2 separate regions of the Homo sapiens genome follow, and region 2 is linked to region 1. Evidence: promoter capture Hi-C in 16 types of primary human blood cells and fetal thymus (Javierre and others, 2016). All regions are on one chromosome and are shown on one strand. Each heading gives the region's core, a stretch centred on a gene start or on the middle of the fragment in contact. The rest is flanking DNA. Distances are from core to core; before and after follow the strand shown.

Region 1 (3,487 bases), core at 270-2,769:
AGGTTGAGTAATTTGCCCACAGCCACACAGCTTAATGACAGAATCAGAATGAAGGATTCACATCAAGGACTGTCTGGCTGCAAAATCCCAGCCCTTATAACCTCCAGGCCACACTGCTGCCCAGTGTCACCATTAACTTGCGGTCCCACCTTGGGCAGTCAGTGACCAGTCTCCCAGCTCCTCAAGGTAAATCTGACAATGGACAGACCTCCTTGATTCACCTGCTTTACTTCTAGGCATGAGTGTAGAGTGGGGAGAGCTGATGTGGCTGCAGGGCCAGGAGAGCACTGCAGACGTAATGACTCTCTACCTTAGGGAAGCTGGCGATGACACGGTCGCGGCTCACAGGGGGCCCCAAAGGTGTCAGGGAGGACCTCATTCTTCCACAGTCCTGTGGACCCAACCAGGAGAAAGACAGTTAAGGAGCTGTGCAAATACCTGGGGATTCACCCATGAGTTTCCACCTAACTTTTCATCAGATCCAGGCTGGGTGCAGTGGCTCATGCCTGTAATCCCAGCACTTTGGGAGGCCAAGGTGGGAGGATCACTTGGGCCCAGGAGGTTGAGACCAGCCTGGGCAACAAAGTGAAACCTCAGTCTCTACAAAAAAAAACCAAAAAAATTAGCAGGGCATGGTGGCCTGTGCCTGCAGTCCCAGCTACTTGGGAGGAAGGTGGGAGGAATGCTTGAGCCTGGGAGGTCAAGGGTGCAGTGAACCGTGAAGGTGCCACTGCACTCCAGCCTGGGTGATAGAGTAAGACCTTGTCTCAAGAATTATAAATAAAACCAGATCCAGGCTTCCCTCTCTGTCAGGAATATGGGGCAGAGGCCATTTCTCTCAATCTGCATACAGCAGGCAGCATGGTATGGGGGAACCAGGCCTGCCCCACCCTGCCTGGGAGTCAGAAGACCTGGGTCTCCCCTTGACAGGTGTCTACCAAGGAGGAGCTCCCCTCTGAGCTTACCTTACTGGGCTGTGAGGCATGGCACAGCTCAGGCAGTGGAAGTAGAGTGGGGAGGGGTCTCCTGCTCCCAGTCTGCAAAGGACGAAGGCTCTAGGTGGGCCTGGGGGCCTTAACTTTCAGCCAACTAGGCCTTTTCCCTGAAAACCCTCACTTCACCAGGCCTCTGACTCCTCGAGCCTCCTCAACAGCCCCTCTGTCTCCTTTTTCTGTCCGGACTCCTCTCCAGGCTGGGCTGGGGTGGTCCTGGCGGAGTCCGGTTGTCTTCCCGCATCTGACCTGGCTCTCCTCCACAACCAGCGCGGGCCTGGCCCAGAGTTTGCGCTCCGGAAATGAGGACGCCCCGGGGCCGCAGGCCGCTTTCAAGTTATAGGGGCGGGAAGTGGGCGCGGACGCTGTGCCCTCGCGGCCCTGGCCTCGGGATGTGCCAGCACGGGGTTGGGTGACCGGGAGGGTCGGACAGAGTGGGCGAGCTGACTCACCAGCGATGGCTGTGAAAGCTGGGGCTCCGCGCGGCCTGGTCCGCCTGAGCCAGCGGCGGCGATCACCATGGCAACGAGAGCCACGCGGGACCTGCGGGCTACACGAATCGTCGACGTCGTGGGCGGGGTCTGCGTTGGACTGGCAGCGGCGCGTCCAAGCATCCAGCTTGCACCGGCGATCACCATAGCAACGAGAACCTGCCTGGAGTCTGGGCGGGGCTGGCAGCAGAGAGACTCCTGGACACCCTGGAGAGCCGGAGATCACCATGACAACAAGGGCGGTGCTGGATGGGTGGGCGGTGGGCGGGGCTATGGAGGCCCGGGGGCGGAGCCTGAGCCCTGGGTGGGGCTGACCGTGGAGAGATTCGCGCAGGTTCTGGTGATCAGCTCGGCTGGGAGAGGTTGGGCGGTTATGGCATAAGAGCTCCTGATGTGGTATTGATGTTTAATTGGAGTCAAGCACCCTGCAGCTGCAGAAGATAGACCTGCCTACCATCTACTGACCTTAGTCTGCATAGTTCTGAATCCAGTGCTGTCTGAATATCATATGCCTGGCTTCTAGAGCTCACGGTACAAAATTAATTTCCTTAATAAAAAGCTGACCTGAGTCAGTGATTTCCTCTGAACTAGTTTCGGTTTGGAAAGTTAGCTGTTTTGGGCTAGATGGCCTCTTGTGGCCCTTATAAAACCGTGGAACCAGCTTCGAAGTCCGGGGTTCAGTTTGAGAACCTACTTAATTCAGCTCCTTAACTTTTCTGCATCACAATATGGAAGCCTTGGTACACAGATCTAACTCAGTCATCTTCAATTCAAAGCTAAGTGTGCTGGAGGCTGGTGTTTGATGTCTTTTTTTTTTTTTTTTAAAGAGATGGAGTCTTGCTATGTTGTCCAGGCTGGACTCGAACTCCTAGGCTCAAGGAATCCTCCCGCCTCAGCCTCCCCAGTCCTTGGGACTACAGGCAAGGGCCACCACACCTGGCTCTGTTTAATGTCTTTTAGTGAGTTTCACTGCTAAGGTTGAGGCTTAGGGGGTGAACTTAGGTGAGTTGTTCCACCTTCCGCACCTCAGTTTACTCAACTATAAAATAAACGCAACTATCTATTTCAATGGATCACCTGAGATGGTGAAAGTGCTTTTATACTGTAAAGCTTGATTCAAGTCCATTAACTATTCATTTGTCCTACATGTACTGAAAGCTTCCTGGTATATGCCTAGCACTGGGGAGACAAGGAAAGAGAACGGACATGGTGTCCACCCTCAGGGAAATTGGAGTCCACTGCGGGAAGCAGAGAAGTAAATAGAGAATTAGGGGAAGGGAGTGTGCCAATGGGATTTAGGAGAAGGGAAGATTAAGCTGTGGGGTCACTTACTAATTTGGATTTGGGGATTTGGCAGGAGCTAGAGATCACCCTGAACTCCTCCTTTAGCTGTTTTTTTTTTTTTTTTTTTTTTTTTTTTGAGATGGAGTCTCACTCTGTCGCCCAGGCTGGAGTGCAGTAGTGTGATCTCGGCTCACTGCAATCTCCGCCTCCCGGCTCAAGCGATTCTCCTGCCTCAGCCTCCCGAGTAGCTGGGACCACAGGTGCGCACCAACCATGCTTGGCTAATTTTTAAATTTTTTTAGTAGAGATGGGGTTTTGCCATGTGTGCCAGGCTGGTTTTGAACTCCTGGCCTCATGTGATCCGCCGGCCTTGGCTTCCCAAAGTGTTGGGATTACAGGCGTAAGCCAGCACACCTGGCCCCAATCCTCCTTTAGCTCTTAAGTGGGCTCTTTGCCTAGATCTAGAAACCAAACTGACACTGGGCAGATTAGCAAGAGAAAAGCATACAAGTGTTATTAGTTTTACATGCGCATGGGGATCTTTACCAGAGTGAAGTCTAGAGAAGTGGCCAAAGCAAGATGCTTTTATACTTTTTAGACAAAGGATGACAAATTTGAGAAGAAATGGCAGGACAAAGGGGATCTGGCTAGGGCAGTAAATTCTAGGGGATTCACTAGGAGATAATATGAGGGGCATAAACTTAGTGGAAGACAGGGTTA
Region 2 (3,277 bases), core at 411-2,910, 290 kb after region 1:
GGCCATGGGCAGCTGAGACTGAGGGCTGGAGACCCCACCTTTAGAGCCACAGGTTCCTTCATCTTCCTGTTCTACCAGCAGACCTTGTCCCCTTATGTACATCAGGGGCCGGGCATCCTCAATACCATCTGTCCCTCTATGAGACTCAGTGCCCAGCAGCTAGGAACCACCTTCCCATTCAGGGTCGAGTCTGCAGTGGACTCAGCAGTGCACAAGGTCCTACCAAGCACAGGATCAGAGTCAGCAGTGCAGAGCCTGGCCTGTGGGCACAGTGTGCACAGCCCCACTGCACACCCAGCATGGCCCTACTGTGTGGAAATGGACCTGCTGTCAACAATGAGCATTGTTTTTTCTTGGGGAACTTTTTGCAAAACCTTCCACAAGTCTCTCATGACAAGTGATCTTGGCTCACTTGTCATGCTGGCTCCAGACAGCTGAGAACAGAATATGAGCAGAGGAATCTTGAGGACTCTGCCTGGAAATAAATTAACAGTTACAATAGGCATTCCTGCACAACTGGGGAAGTGTGAGCTTGGACTGGAGAGAAGAGCATTGCTTATTATTGAGAGAGAGAGAGCAGGGGAGAGAGTCCAAAAGAGCACAAGGGGATCAGTTGCTGCTATAGCGAGAGGGGAAATGGTGCTTGCTACACTATTCTTTGATTGGTATCCATTGAACAATTTCAAAATTAAACTAGGTTTACTTTCCTCCAGAGTGTGCAGTATTTTTATTATGGCAAAATGAACAATTTTTAAACCATTTCAATCATTTGTAAGTGTGCATTCAGCAACAGTAAGTACATTCAGAATGCTTTGCAACCACCACCACTTTCCATCCCCAGAGCTTTTCCACCACTCCACAAAAACACTGTGGGCCCTTTAGACAGTGACTTTAGAAACTTTGGAGCTTGGGAACAAATTGAGGAGTGTGTGGTCTGAAGGAAGTTTCCTGTAAGGATCCAAGGAGTGTCTGCACCAATCTCCCCAGTTTCTTCAAAATCTCAGGACAGTGAGGAGGAGACACCTCATCTAGGAAACCAGATGACACACAGCCCCTGTGCCTCCTCTGGGCTGGTTTGTCCCAAAGAGAAGAGAAATTCCAGTAGGAATGCACCCTCTGAGACAGCGTTCTCCTCTCCTGGAGGACTTGTAGTTATAGTTGAGGCTCTTGTGTTTGGTTTACTGAAATGATTCCTACAATTGTTGAATGGATCCTGGAAGATGGAAGTGGATTTCTACAGACGCAGTCAGCTGGTAGTTCCATCTGCCATTGCTGTGCCAGATGAAGACCCTGATAGAACACACCACCATGCATGGCTACAGGTGCACAGCAGGCACCATCAATGCAGAAACTCATTCTATTCCTCTCAGAACAGGATCAGAAACGGTGTGCATACAAGGAGTAGACAGCAGTATAGGTTTATACTTTTATTTTTTCAACTTCATTAACTCTCCCTTCTTTTTCATGATATTGTCATAGGGGCTTTGACCATCTGAACACCCAGGAGAACCTCCTAGGGCTCTATTCTGTATTTGGATCAGATGTGCATGAGGGGGCCCTGTCTATTGGAAGCTTTGGTGAGACCCACGCATTCCTGAGAGTGCGAAACAAGCCCTAAGACCATTCATCCTGTGTAGTAGCTGAAATGTTTAGGATTGAGTTCTCTGGAGCAGCTTAGTATCTCTCACAAAATAAAGAGCACGTTATTAGATCTTACAATTCCCACCAGAAAGAAACACAAAGCTTTAAGGTCATTCTGGTGTCTAGAGGCAGCATATTTAACCCTTGGGGATGTGGCTCCAACTCATATATCAGGAGCCATGAACATCGCCCACTGTTTTGGAGCCCAGAGCAGGGAGGTTCTGCACCAGGTTCAGGCAGGGGTATGAGTGTCCTGCTGTTGGGACCACAGAATCCAGCAGACTCTACCATAGTCACAGAATTGGTGATAGGAATGGAAGAATTTATGATAGGAACTGAAAACTCATGTTTACGCAATCTCTCATGGGAAAATCCCATGAGATTTTCCCAATGGGATTCCAATCCCATGGGATTTGGAACAATTCCATGTCATCCACAAGAGAGAATTATATTCATTTGGAAAACAACTCTCCCCATGTGCTCTTGTTCCCTGGTAGATACAGGACAGCATCGGACATTCAGTGACCAAGCAGCCAGAACTGCCAGATTCCCCCGTCGTGTGCTCAGGCAGACCCCAGCAGCGATCCCTGGTGAGACAGATGTGACACAGCTAGGATGGAGCAGGAGCAGGGCCCCAGAGCTGAGTAACCTGTGGGTGGTCCACAGCCAAGTTTGCATCTCTCTTGCTCTAGCACTGCTCCCTGGGTTTACACTTACGTTGTGTGGGTAGCAGTCCCTCTGCTCAGCTGATGGAGCAAAAATTTCCAGAGTAGCCCAGCAATGAACTGGATCACCATGAAGTAGAGCACAGCTGCACTATATGGGTGTACTAAGGGGTGGCATTAAGAGACAATGGAGAGGGGACATCTTTCCTGCATGAGGGCATGGCGCCTGGTCATTCATTTTGTGAGGAAAGGTGAGTGGCCGGATGCCAGGGCAGATAGGGGCTTAGGGCAGTGGGAAATGACCTGGGCAGGTGTTCCAGGGACTGCAAGAGAAAAACTTGGAAATGGGGGAAGTGGAGTATGGGCAGAAGCCTGTGGGTGGTCTTTGGGCACGGGCACCACACAGAAGAAACTTTGAATCATAGGTTAATAGCCCATAGAGTGTCCATGATGGACATAGTGCCAAACACCCAAGTGGTCAGAAAGAAGAGATCAGGGGTGGTCAGCCACTCTGTCAGGTGACATGTGCCCCACAGCATGGGTATCCACTCGTAGGCTCTGAGAGTGTGTGGGTCGACCTTAACGTGGAGTCTAGGTGGACCCCACAGCGTCCACTCCAGCTTACACCGTTTTGAATATAAGGCTGCCAGGAGATTCAGGAACTTAAGTGCTAGGGAAATGCTGAGGACTAACCTAGGACGTCTGGGCCAAGGGGTGACCCAGGCTTCACCATATGGAACTCACATCCTTTACCACTAGATGAAAGATACGCTTTGTGTGTCCTTTCATCCAGGCCCTCTTTCACCAGCTTTATCCTGGGTTAGAAAACCCCAAAACAGCCTGTCCACACAGCCTCAAATCTCCTCCTAACCCACTCTCTGCAGAGCCTGCCTGAAGGGCTGGCATGTGGAAACCCAGGTCTTTTGCCACTACGTGCATGGGCCACTCTGTCTGCCCGTCCATTCAGGCTC

What was found. Contacts are between HindIII fragments. The CHiCAGO score rates a contact against its expected background, and 5 or more counts as called.
Region 2: a fragment that was not itself captured here is called in contact with the fragment with the promoter of RAB36 in region 1 in 1 of 17 cell types (megakaryocytes); the score reaches 6.5 in megakaryocytes.

Annotation. Positions count from the first base shown.
Region 1 is chr22:23,143,509-23,146,995 of GRCh38, reverse strand. RAB36 (RAB36, member RAS oncogene family) reads right to left here and starts at 1,519. Exons shown (of 11, transcript NM_004914.5): 1 at 1,445-1,519; 2 at 311-391. The coding sequence starts at 379. It also overlaps a transcript of RSPH14 not described here. RefSeq lists a silencer at 1,697-1,766. The HindIII fragment of the contact is 8,574 bases long and covers 1-2,595 here.
Region 2 is chr22:22,850,915-22,854,191 of GRCh38, reverse strand. The region is part of intron 2 of LOC105372948 (a long non-coding RNA gene); the gene reads left to right. It also overlaps IGL. Among named protein-coding and RNA genes, the nearest start is that of MIR650, 30 kb to the right of the region's middle. The HindIII fragment of the contact is 171 bases long and covers 1,575-1,745 here.